3 separate regions of the Homo sapiens genome follow, and all the other regions are linked to region 2. The links are contacts of gene promoters, found by promoter capture Hi-C in blood cells and fetal thymus (Javierre and others, 2016). All regions are on one chromosome and are shown on one strand. The core of a region is centred on a gene start or on the middle of the fragment in contact, and the rest is flanking DNA. Distances in the headings are between cores, read along the strand shown. Region 1 overlaps LOC124902957 (a long non-coding RNA gene). Region 2 holds the start of DYRK2 (dual specificity tyrosine phosphorylation regulated kinase 2). Region 3 overlaps LINC01479 (long intergenic non-protein coding RNA 1479).

What was found. The method cuts DNA at HindIII sites, captures the fragments that hold promoters and counts their contacts. A CHiCAGO score of 5 or more calls a contact.
Region 1: a fragment that was not itself captured here is called in contact with the fragment with the promoter of DYRK2 in region 2 in 5 of 17 cell types (M0 macrophages, M2 macrophages, M1 macrophages and 2 more); the score reaches 11.0 in M0 macrophages.
Region 3: a fragment that was not itself captured here is called in contact with the fragment with the promoter of DYRK2 in region 2 in 2 of 17 cell types (naive CD4 T cells and M2 macrophages); the score reaches 7.1 in naive CD4 T cells.

What each region holds. Positions count from the first base shown.
Region 1 is chr12:67,352,308-67,356,408 of GRCh38, forward strand. It overlaps LOC124902957 (a long non-coding RNA gene), which reads left to right. Exons shown (of 2, transcript XR_007063354.1): 2 at 1-373. Among named protein-coding and RNA genes, the nearest start is that of CAND1, 85 kb to the left of the region's middle. The HindIII fragment of the contact is 569 bases long and covers 1,739-2,307 here.
Region 2 is chr12:67,646,338-67,650,420 of GRCh38, forward strand. It overlaps DYRK2 (dual specificity tyrosine phosphorylation regulated kinase 2), which reads left to right and starts at 2,408. Exons shown (of 3, transcript NM_006482.3): 1 at 2,408-2,845; 2 at 3,460-3,608. The coding sequence starts at 2,797. RefSeq lists silencers at 2,071-2,180, 2,281-2,580, 2,591-3,250, 3,411-3,800. The HindIII fragment of the contact is 7,364 bases long and covers 1-4,083 here.
Region 3 is chr12:67,937,162-67,940,919 of GRCh38, forward strand. The region is part of intron 2 of LINC01479 (long intergenic non-protein coding RNA 1479); the gene reads left to right. Among named protein-coding and RNA genes, the nearest start is that of LINC01479, 9.8 kb to the left of the region's middle. The HindIII fragment of the contact is 3,534 bases long and covers 242-3,758 here.

The DNA of each region.
Region 1 (4,101 bases), core at 773-3,272, 290 kb before region 2:
CCATCAAAAGACTCTTCAAGTTGAAATATTCCAAAGTGCAATTATAGAATTTCAAAATTAAATCCTGTATCCTGTTTAAATTTGTATTGTTAACATTTGTTCACATCCTTTTTTTTTGTATAGACAAATTTCATTTGCTCTTCTGTAAGTTTTGTTTTCAATAACTTTAATTCTCTAAAAAGTTTTGCAAGCTGAAGGTTTTTGTTCTTCCACTTGTTGAATGCCTTGATTTAAAATTTCAATACTTGTTAATAAAATGTGACCAAAATTTAGAAAACTTGTTTACAAGAGTTGTACGCCACTTGGGTTGACTTGAAAGTAATTTATTTGAAGAATCAAACATTTCAATTAAAGCTTCATGATATGGTTTGGATTTCTTTTCCTGCCCAAATCTCATGTTGAATTGGAGGAGGGGACTGGTGGGAGGTCACTGGATCATGGGGGCAGGTTTCCTTCTTGCTGTTCTCCTGGTAGTGAGTGAGTTCTCATGAGATCTGATCGTTTAAAAGCATGTGGCACCTCCCTCTTCTTTTTCTTTCCTGATTCATCATGGTAAGATGTGCTTGCTTTCCCTTAGTCATCTGCCGTGATTGTAAGTTTCCTGAGGCCTTCTAGCCTCATGCTTCCTGTATAGCCTGTGGAACTGTGAGTCAATTAAACCTCTTTTCTTCATAAATTACCCAGTATCAGGTATAGCAGTGTGAGAACAGACTAATAGACTTCAATTAAAGATTTATTCTTGATAGGTCCAAAACTTTGGCTGATGGGGAAATGGGGCTGTCTAGAACGCCAGATACATGTTACAAGGGGAGGGAGGAAAGTAAGTGAGAGCATGTCTTATTCTTCTTCTGAACTGGTGAGGCAGTCATCTTAGCTGTCCATAGTGCTATGGACCACTGGAAAACAGCCCCTTTCTTAATGTCTTGGCCATCAGGAATGGTCATCCATCTGGCAAACATTTGCAGTTTGCCTACCACGTGTTAGATACAGCCTGGGGTGCTGGGGTTGCAGAGTCAAACTCTTAATCTTTTTTCAGAATGAACCTATGGCAGGTGAGAGGGGAAAACAAACCATTTTACCAGCATATGATGGGCACTGTGATGGAGTTATAAATAGGGTCTTGTAGGAGCATAAAAGCAAGGGGCTGCAGACTGCTTGGATGAGACAAGCGAAGGCAGCTCCTGAGCTGAAGTTTGAAAACAAGTAGGCATTACTCAGACTGTCAAAAGGCAGGCATTGGGCAAAAAAGCAAGAGCATATATGTAGTGTAGTGACTGAGGGTGCCTAGTGTATTTAGGGAAACCTTCAAGTAGCTCTGTATGCTGGAAGTTGAGTTTGTGTTGCAAGTGTGGAAGGTGAGAAATTTGCCTAAAATCAACTGATCAGAGGCTGGTGAACACTACAGGGAAAGGATTGGTGACAATTTAGATACATTTCTGAAACTTTTGAATTTCATAAAAGATGACCTCTCAGTGGCATTTTTTTTTTTTCAAGATGGAGTCTAGCTCTGTGGAGTGCAGTGGCGCGATCTTGGCTCACTGCAACCTCCACCTCCCAGGTTCAAGAGATTCTCCTGCCTCAGCTTCCCAAGTAGCTGGAATTACAGGCACCTGCCACCATGCCCAGCTAATTTTTGTATCTTTAGAAGAGGCGGCATTTCACTGTCTTGGCCAGGCTGGTCTCAAACTTCTGACCTTGTGATCCACCCACCTCGGCCTCCCAAAGTGCTGGGATTACAAGCTTGAGCCACTGTGCCCGGCTGACAATCAATTTTATACCGACAACTCTGTTTACTTTTGTATAATCTTACTGATAGGTTAGAACATGGCTATCTCATTGTGATGACAGATTGCAGGAGACAGTTGCTCAAATGATAGTATCGGTCTATCTTGGTCAAGTGTCTTAGCTATATGAATTTATCATTTAACACTAACAATACAAATGTTCAGCTGGTAAATAGCTCAAAGATCGACAGGAAGGTGTCTAAAACTACAGGAGTGTCCAAGCAAGCAAGGTTTCACAGTGAGGGAGGAAGTGGAATGAAAAGGGGGAGATGGCAGACTTGAAAAGAGCCCAAGAGTTTGGTTGTGGGCCAGTGAAGCATTTCAGTTTTCCGGATAGTTATGAAAACTGAAACTATGACTCCAAATGTGGGTTCAAAGGGAGGGTGGGATGCTGAAATATTGTTTTTGCTTTGTGTAGGCAGAGTTCCTGTCTCAAGAAGAGGTTTGGCAGTAACAAAGTTTAGCTATTCTGCTGGCCATCACTCCGGAAAGTGTTCCCACGAAGTGGCTGACTTAAAAAGTAAGCTTGACTAAGTATCATATCACATGAGCAGCACTGGAAAGAGGCAGAGCTGAGGGAAAGAGGGAAGCTTCTGTGTAGACGTCGACTTTACTCTTTGACCACCATACCTTGCCTTTCAGTTTGTGGGTAGCTTAGGAAACCGAAGTCAGACAACATAATTGGCTTTTGGGGGATAAGAATTGTGTCTTTCGGATGTTTCTCATAGTGCTTTACAGGATATACCCTCAAAAGAAGCTGAAAAAATTTTAAAAAGAAAGTCTGACACATTTCAATGCTGTGTTCAAGCCTTCTGTTTTCCAAAAGAGGCCATCAGGTATCACAGCAAATCACTTTTGTGGATTATAAAAGGAAGGTGACTTGCAGCTCTAAAATCTTAAATTCTCTGCTCCATGTTCTGTGTTTTATAAATAAGCATAATTGGTATTCAGAAAAGAAATCTGCAATCTCAGCCTACTTCAGGATGTTGGTGAGTTGACTAAGCTGTAAAACTCCTTAAAAGTCAGGATGTTTGGGCAGAGGAGGGCAAAATGTCTAGACAGAACAGAAGGTTTAAACTGCCCCTGGTGAAATTTAGTGGGAATTGACTTTAGCAGCTCTTCCTCCTGGGTGAATAGCTTGTGATTTGCGACTGTGAAGTGGTTGGACTGAAATGCTTTCTACTCTGAAGTTGTATGACTTTTTTTTTTCACATAGTGAATAGAGATATTGATGGAAAAGACATAACTATCAAGATAAAAGTGTGTTTTAAAATAATACTTTTAAGTATTCGACTGTATTCCTTTGTCCTTATGCAAACTAAACCTTGAGAAACAAAGACTGGTAAGATCTTGTGGAGAGAAAGTCAAATATTCCAATTCATTTGGCTTTGTTTGTGCCATATGTGTAAATAACTCCAACAAGATAGTCTGAGAAATAAGAGTTCATCTGGGAACATTCTTAGTCTTGTTATTAATGTTTTAAAATCCTTAGAACTCTTTTGCCAAATTCTGAGACTTAAAATGCAAAGATAAGGATGATTATTTTCAGAGCCAAGTGTGGAAATTATTCTTCTAGTATCTCTCTGTGTTCATGCGGTGCTATTGACTCTGGCAAAATGGGATCTCATATCTCTTTACTAATGAGAACTCAAATCTTCCCTGGGGACTGGCAACTTTAAAGGCTCATTACTCATATGTTTGATGTTATCTTTTGCTGGCAAATAACTGACGCTAGAGTCTTGAACATTTGCCTTTTAGGTTTGCTGTTTGCCCAACATTATGCTAATTCATCTGAAATGGAACTGTCAGCGGCTGCAGAATGTCTTTACCTTTCTTGAGAATTGAAGAAATTTATCTTCACTGGAAGCCTTAATACTAAGCACCCTTTTTTTTTTTTTTTTTTTTTTTTGGCGTTCTTGGTCTTTTCTTCCAGGAGGTGGCGATAGAACATCATAAATATCAAGGTACAAAATGCATGCGTTTTTGCCCCTCAAAGCCTCCCATTGTGGAGCTTATGACCAGCGTGAGTTACTATTCAAGATTTGAGCCTTGGGTGAGCTCTTTTATTGTAATATTTGACTTCCAAGTCATATCTGAAGAGAGAGCAGAAGTACTTTCAACTCCACTGATCACTTGTTTTTCCACTTAGCTTCTCATTTTCTGAGTTTGTGCTGTTGAGTGCAGGAAATGTTAAATAGGTTGGCCTTCAGTTGAAAGATACTGAGATTTACTAGCGCTGTTGTAGATTGGGCTTTTGAACCTAGAATTATTGCTTTTGGTGTAAACCAACATGACTGCCATGCTGTTTCCTAGACAT
Region 2 (4,083 bases), core at 1,158-3,657:
ATGTCAATATTTAATAGAATATTTAACAGAATGAGGAAAATCTAAGCAATGGTTAATAGTCACTTAGAGGTCAGTAAAAATTAATATAATTTTCAAAGATGTACCATTTATAATCAAAATAGCTATGGGGTAGGTCAACTGCAATATTTCCTTATGTTAAGCCACAAAAAATATACAAAATTGAAATTATATTTGTCATGATATAAAACAATATACTACAAAAAGTTCCCTATTGTCTTTTTCTTTCTTAAAGTTAATGATTGTGATCCTTTGTCAAAAAAAAAAAAAAAAAAGAATCAGTGCTCCTTTTCCTCATGTTAAATGAGTAAATTAATATTACTAATTTGGAAATCGTAAACTATGGCTTCCAGTAACTAGCATTTATTTTATTCATGAGAAAACAGTGGCATATTTAGCTTCTACTGAAGTATTGTACGAATAACTTAAGCAAAAAGGGGTGTCATATTATATTAAAATTGATTTTTTTGTTTCATTTTTTTATTTGAACATCAGTTGTATGGAGTACTCATTTTAAAAAGGAAAATGGTATGAAAATAATTGTTTTGAAAGGAGAAAAAAGAGGTGTGAGCTTTCTTGAAAGTGTAAGGAAAGTAGTGTGATGGAAGTCATAGTGAAATCAGACTGGGAGTCAGAAAACCGGTTCTAGTGTCATCTCTGCTACTTAGTAGCCCTTTTCTTTTAGTCGATTCTAAACACTAAATATGCTTCCGCATGTGGATTTAAATGTGATGGTCGCCAGTGACAAGCATAGGGGGATATTTCTTGCTAGGGTCAGTTCAGGTCATGATTCCTCTAAAGGCATATTATTGGATTATTTTACTGTGGGTCTACTTTATTAGGAGAAGGCCCCGAAAGGGTGTTTTGTTTTGTTTTGTTTTGTTTTGTTTTGTTTGGAGGGACGTAATACTAGGGAAAATTCTTTTTGTCACAGGTTCCCTCTCCCAGTGACCCTAACTTGGAGGCCTCTTTAGGAGTCCCAGAGACTCTGAGAGGGTCACACTGTACCTTGAAACAGTTTTTGGCGTTTGTATAAAGCTGCGGATGCGCTCTGTAGGAGGTTGCTATGACAATTTGCAAACAGTAGAGTGGATGAAACTCCGCAGGAGGTGGCTCCCTTCCGACTGGAGTCTGCACTAGTTCGGGCCTGCACAGTAGGTCCAGCCAGGAGCCAGAGATACTCGGGCGGGGCAGAGCATAATGGACCCCTGGCCCCAAGAGAACTTCAGAAACTAGGCACCTCTCGAGAAGGAAGTGCATGGCATAACTCTGCCCCGTCATCCGGGATTTGTCGGGCTTTCCCACCCCACCTCCTCTCACAGTTGAAGTGGCAAAACCTGTGACCTTTGAACAGAGGCGCACTGTGTGCCACGCACGACGAGGCGCGGATGTGAGACGGGAAAGCAATTTTTTTTTGGTCTTCAAGGAAAAGAGAGGTTGTATATGGCGAATAAAAAAGGCAGGGAAATTCTCCACGTGTCTTGGAAGGGAAGGGGGAAAGAGATGTGTCGGGTGGGGTGAGAGGAATTCGAGGTGTCGCTCCCTCACCGCAGAGCTGAAAGGAAGGTGTGTCTCTCCCAGTGGCCGCGCAGGGGAAAGGCTCGGAGTTGTAAGGAAATAGGAGATGTCTCTGATGTTTATTTTTGCCTAGCAACCCACAGCCAACTGCTTCCCCAGCTGCCGTCCACACGCGCCTCTCTGCCTCCCCTTGTCCTAGCGACTGGCGAGCGGTCACTTGGTGTCAGTAAACCGGGGAGGGTGTGTGGTGGAGGTGGGAGGGCAGCCCCCTCTTTCGCCCCTGCTCAGGGTCAACGAGCTCAGCGGCCGCCCCTCCCGGGACTTGCCTCTCCGAGGTGACCCTCGCACAACTAAGTTATCTACATGATGAATTGGGGAGAGGGGAGTGGCTAAGTCGCTGGGACCAAGAATGGGGGGACGGGGAAGCAGTACTGTCTGTGAGCAGCCATTCAGTTCGAAGAGCTGAAAATGCATTTATGTTTAGGGGTGCGCATGGCAGGGGAGGGGTCTCTGCGGCGCTTTCGGCCGGAGGGCAGCAGCGGTAGGTTGAGCTGTAGGGCAGAGAAGGGGCGCCGCGGGGCCGGGGAGGGGAAAAGGTCGCCGGAGTGGAGCCGAGGGAAGCAGTGCAGATGGCCGGAGGGGGCGGAGGAGGGCGAGCGGAGGCCGCCGAGTTTTCCGGGGAGCGGAGGGGCGGCTGCGCGCAAACCGGGGGACTGAGAGGAGCCGGGCGGGAGGTTGGGTGGGGGTGGGGTGTGCGTGGCCGCGGCCGGGGGAGCCGGGGGCGGGGCCTGCGGCGGCGGAGGAGGGCGGCGGAGGGCGGCGGGGGCGGGGCCGCGCGCCGGCGCCTGTGTGTGAGTGCGCGGGGGCGCGCGCGCGCGGGCCCGGGAGAGGCTCCCGAGCCAGGCGGTCTTCGGTCCTCGCAGCGCTTCCAGCTCCCCGCGCCCCTATGTGAGGGAGACGGGGAGGCCCGCGGCGCGCAGGGGAGGGCGAGGCATGTGCACGGGCCGGAGGGTGCTGCAGCCGCCCGAGGAAGAGGAGGACGGCGGCGAGGAGGAGAGCGGGGGGCTCGCGGCGGCGGGCCCCGGCCGAGGGGATGCAGTGGACTGTGTGTGTCTGGCTGTAGCAGACGCGAGGCGGCGACGAGGCGCCGGGGACCCGCGCGAGGGGCGGCCGGGAGGCGGCGGCGGCGGCCGCCAGAAGTAGCAGCAGGACCGGCGGCGGCGACGGCAGCCCTGAAATGCATTTTCCTCTCCAGCGGCCATGTTAACCAGGAAACCTTCGGCCGCCGCTCCCGCCGCCTACCCGACCGGTAAGGAGGCCGTGCCGCCGCGCCGCATCCCCGGACCCCCGCCGGCCCTGGGCAGCCCCTGTGGCGCGGGCGGCCGCTGCCTGCGGGACCTCGAACAAAGTCGGCGGCGCGGCGCGGGGGAGCCCCCGGGCGGACGACGCGCCCCGGGCTCCATGCAGGGTTGTGCGCGGCCCCGAAGGCCCCTCCGCGGGGAGCCCTCGGCCCGAAGAGGCTTCTGCCTGCCGGGGGCCCGGGCGGGGACCGTCCAGGCCTGCCGCCCCGCCCTGCGCTGCCCGGGGCTTGGCGTGGCCGTGGCTCCCTGCTCAGCTGTCCAAACCCACCTCCCGGCTGCTGGCCGTCTGCAACGTGGGCCGCCTAGCCCCGGCGCGGCCCGGCTCCCCCGCCGGGTCGCGAACTCGCGCGCCAGGGCCCCACTTAACTTTGCAGCTGCCCGCGCCCCGCCCGTGGGTGTGCGCTGGGGAGCCGTGACCCGAACGCCCGTTTTTACTGCCCCGGTCTCTTCCTCCGTCTTTCTTTGGAAGAGGGTTGTCGCTGCCCAGCGGGGTTGGAGGGGGGGTCTGGGTGACTTTCTCCCCCCTGACCCTCTTTTGTCTCCTCCCGCACGTGGCTTCCAGGCCGAGGTGGGGACAGCGCCGTTCGTCAGCTTCAGGCTTCCCCGGGGCTCGGTGCAGGGGCCACCCGGAGCGGAGTGGGGACTGGCCCGCCCTCCCCCATCGCCCTGCCGCCTCTCCGGGCCAGCAACGCTGCCGCCGCAGCCCACACGGTGAGACCCAGCCCGCGGGCGGCCCGGGCGGTGGGGGCGGGAGGGGCCCCAGGCCGAAGCACCCGGACTTGGAGGGGTCTGACGCCGGGAGAAGAGGGGTCGAGATACAAGCAGCCCCACGCCTCGGGCCGATGGTCTCTCGTCGACGCCGCCCTGGTTAAGTTGGGCGAGCCCAAAGCTGCAGCCACAAAGGAAGATTCGTGGCGTGGGCCCCTTACTTCCCCTCCAGAGCTCGCCCACCCATGACCTCCTCTTCCTAGGAACTTCCTCCTTGCTGCTTTCCTTCTTTCCTCATTTTTCGTCCTTGCATCCCAGAGTTCCCTTCCCTGACCCGGTAAACATCTCTGTCCTTCCCCCACCTCCCCGTGGGTAGTGGGTATTTATAGAAACAGATACGTGTTAGGGGACAGCCAGACCGGCCTGCCCGGAAAATCGATCCCCCAAAGAGCCTCCCAGGCCTGGCTCCAGCCAGCAG
Region 3 (3,758 bases), core at 759-3,258, 290 kb after region 2:
CCTACATTTGTGATAAGACCTGAGTATATTTTTTAAACATCTGTGTTTTTCAGCCAAAGGTTATATACAAATACTAGGTGTTGTTATTATGAAACTGGCAACACTGAACACTGAGTAACTTTAAATAGAGTCACCATGTGGCAGTTGAGTCTTAGACATATGCACTGCTGTTCGTTTCTCACAGCAAGTGAGTGGCCCATTTGATGTACTGTGGCTCTGAGTGGGTCATCCATGGGGGCAAAGCTTGGGAGACACATAGTTTTGAGATTCAAACCGTAGGTGATTCCTCTAGTTGTCATGGTGTCCTGAATATTAAGTTCAGTTTTCAAAACAGACAGTCCACAAAATTGTCAACTCTGATGATCCTTTTAGAAAATAACCTAGGGCATTCTTCATCGCACCTGGAAGAAGGATGGTCCTTAAGAGGGGCTGTTCACATCCCTTTTTGTGTAATCAAAAGATCTTGATTCTCTTCCTTCAGATTTCTTTCAAGGAAGTAGAAAGAATAAGATTCTGGAATGTGGAAAGGGTAACTACTCCTCTTTTCTTGATGGCGAATGTTGTTAGTTTAACCTTCTATGGAAAGAAAGGGCAATGTAGGAAGTGCAGTGAATCCTCAGTTCCAAACAGCCATTGCAAATGGTGACTGCCTACCGTTAACCCACTGTAAACAAGTGCATTTCTAACACAATAATCTCCCTGCACCTCACTTGTAATTTACACAAACAAATTTAAGATCCACACAGTGTAGAAGCCAAAGCAGGGAGACAAAGCCACTGTCTACTCTCCCCACATTCTTTGTCCCAACCCCATCCCTTGTTGCTGGGCAGGTGCACAGGAGAGAGGGTGCGTGCACCTTTGTACAGTGGAGAAGCACACACCTGCTTCCTGCACCCCCTGGTGTCTCTCAGAACCACCAGCCAGAGGAGAGGTAAAGCTGAATTGCATGTTGCACTGAAAGGGCTGGGATCTAGTGACCCATCTCTCCACTCCAGTCTTTCACTCCCTTCAACACAGCTATAGAAGTGGAAATGAAAGAGAGGCAAAGACTGATATGGAAATCTAAACATAAGCAATGAATGATTTGTATCTTTAGGGAAACTTTCTCTTCCCACATTTTCCTCTTATCTCATAGAAGAAGGAATCTCCATCATGACTCTCAGAAACACCAAAAAGGAAAGATCCACCATCTCAATTCCTCTTTACTTGCTCTTCTTTACGGAAATGGGAATAATAATCTGATTGGTTAATTTGCCTCAAATCAGCAGACTGGATTCTGCTGCTATCTAGGGTACCGGGAAGCAAATGGGGGCTAGGTTTGACAAACGCTGGATGCCTGTGTTCAGTGATGGTGGACATCAATGGTGGAAGGCTTCCAACCTTCATGCGACAAGCAGACCAAGCACTGGGTTTAACAGTTGAAGATGAGAAGCTACAAGGCAAGCAAAAACCAGCAGCCAAGGGTGAGAGTAGAGAGAAGGGGGAAAGAGGCAGCGTGGAGCTATTCTAGAATACATGACTTTTATATAGTTTATAACAGACTACCTTCAGCTGGATTGAACAAAAAAAAACTGTCTTAAAAACAGTCTTTCCTTCTCCCAAAATAAATTTGGAGATAGATGAGCCAGGAAGTATAATGTTCTCCACAATCATCAGGGAATGAGAATCTTTCTGTTTTCCACTCTACCTACTTGGCCTGTAGCTTTTGTTTTCAAGGTCACTTCAAGGTTGAAAGATGGCCACTAGAGCTCTAGACATGGCACCCTGTCCCAGGGCAATAGGAAAATAGAAGGAGCCAGAGGAAGGACACACATCCCAGCTGAACTGAAGTTACACTGGGAACCCCACCTACCAACTTCTGCTAGCATCTCATTGGCCACTTCCAGCTGCAAGGTAGATTGGGATGTGGAGTCTTATCTAGACACAGTAGTGGCCTGAATAACATCATATGGGGTCACAGTGCATTAGTAAGGAAGAAGTGGATGCCTGATGAGTTCCAGGGAGCAATCAGATTAACCACATCTGCTCCTATGGGGAGGAGAAAGCAGAAGATGGAGAGGTTAAGACTCACTCCATAATACATTTATGAGAGATCAAAAGAATTGGCAAAATTTTCTTTCTCTGTAATCTAAAGGTGAGTAGAAAATTAAGGGAGTTCTCTGAATAAATTAAGACCATTACCTCATTACAAATATGCACACACACTTGCAAAAGTAGACCCACTTTTCATGGACAAATGCCAAGAAAAGAACAAGGTTAGAGAGGAAAAGGCTTCCTTCTACAGCTATATCTTCCCGTAAAACATTGTGGAGGGTGTATGTGTGTATGTGAAAGAGAGAGGGAGAGAGAGTAATGGAGTGGTGGTACTATTTTATTCAGAGAACGTTCTTAACTTTCTATGTACTTTTACATGTATCAACACAATCTAACCCTACTGAGCTCCTATTATAAAAATTAATCACCAAGGTTAGGGCACAGTTTGTTCCTGTGAAAGGACATTCCCAAAGAACAGATGTGGGGAGGACAGCCTTTCCTCTGGGTCCTATCACTAAGTTAATGGTCAGAATTCATGCTGTGGAGTGAACAGCCCATCACAGTCTGAGGCATTACCATGGAGGATGAGCTTTAGGGAACAATGGGATAAAGACAGACCAGACAGGACAGGCCGTCCAGAACACTGCCCAGAAAAATTCCCACCACCTCTGCCAGCTCCTAAACTGCCCGTGTAGGGAGATTTCTGCTGTTACACCATCAGCTGGTTTATCTTGTCTGCATGGCATGTTGAGAGAAGGCTGTTTGGGGGCCAGCTAAGTCAGTTTCTCTAGCTGCTGAAATAGCTTTCATAAAAATAGAGTTACAAAACTAATGTTAACGCTTGGGCTGTATACTGTCTTTTTCAGAAAAATAATGGTTATTATAAACAAGGAACAGTAAAGGTTTCTGGGAGAAAATATAATAGAAAAGTTGTCCTGGCACCCTTTGGAGAAGGTAATGGGACTCTCTCATGACCTTTGTTTCAGAATTGCTTTGTAATTCTGGTAAGATAGACACTAAATTGTCATTTCTGGACTGTATAGACACACTAAATTGTCATTACTGGAAGTATATACACAAACATGCAAAAATGGACCCATTTTAAAATAAGCAAATACAAGGGCCAAAATGTTCGATTACAGGTTCATGATGGATTTTTATTTTTTTAATTATACAAATGCTTATATTTTTCTAACAACAATTTCATTCGAAGAAAAGTCAGTTGATAAATTTTAAGGTTGTATTTATTACTCCTATTGGTTTTTGAAAAGTGTTCATTCAATCTAGGTGTTTTTAGAGTATCAGCTTTTGAACTCAGGGTTCTCAATCTTGAAAGCATAATGGTAAAAGTCCTGCTTTCATTTATTTAAGTGTTCTCAGAGACTACAATTGCCAATATAAATTTGAAAAAACAAAATTTACAGTACCATCGCTTTTTGGTAACAAATACTATATGCAAATCCACTTGTAAAACTATCTTACAAGTATTTTCTTAACAATGTTCTGCAACTAGTAGTTATGTTTTGAGGTGCCCAGCAAAGGAAAACGAATCCATCCACTTTGTGCCAGTCAGTAACAACCACAACAGAGCAGCTGATGTTGTTAACAATGCCCCTATTAGCTAAGGATCAGAAATGTTGTGACATTAGTTTCTGGGATCATGTCAGGATTGAATTAGACTGACTCATCTCAGGTCCTGGTGCTCTCTTAATTCTTTGGTCAGC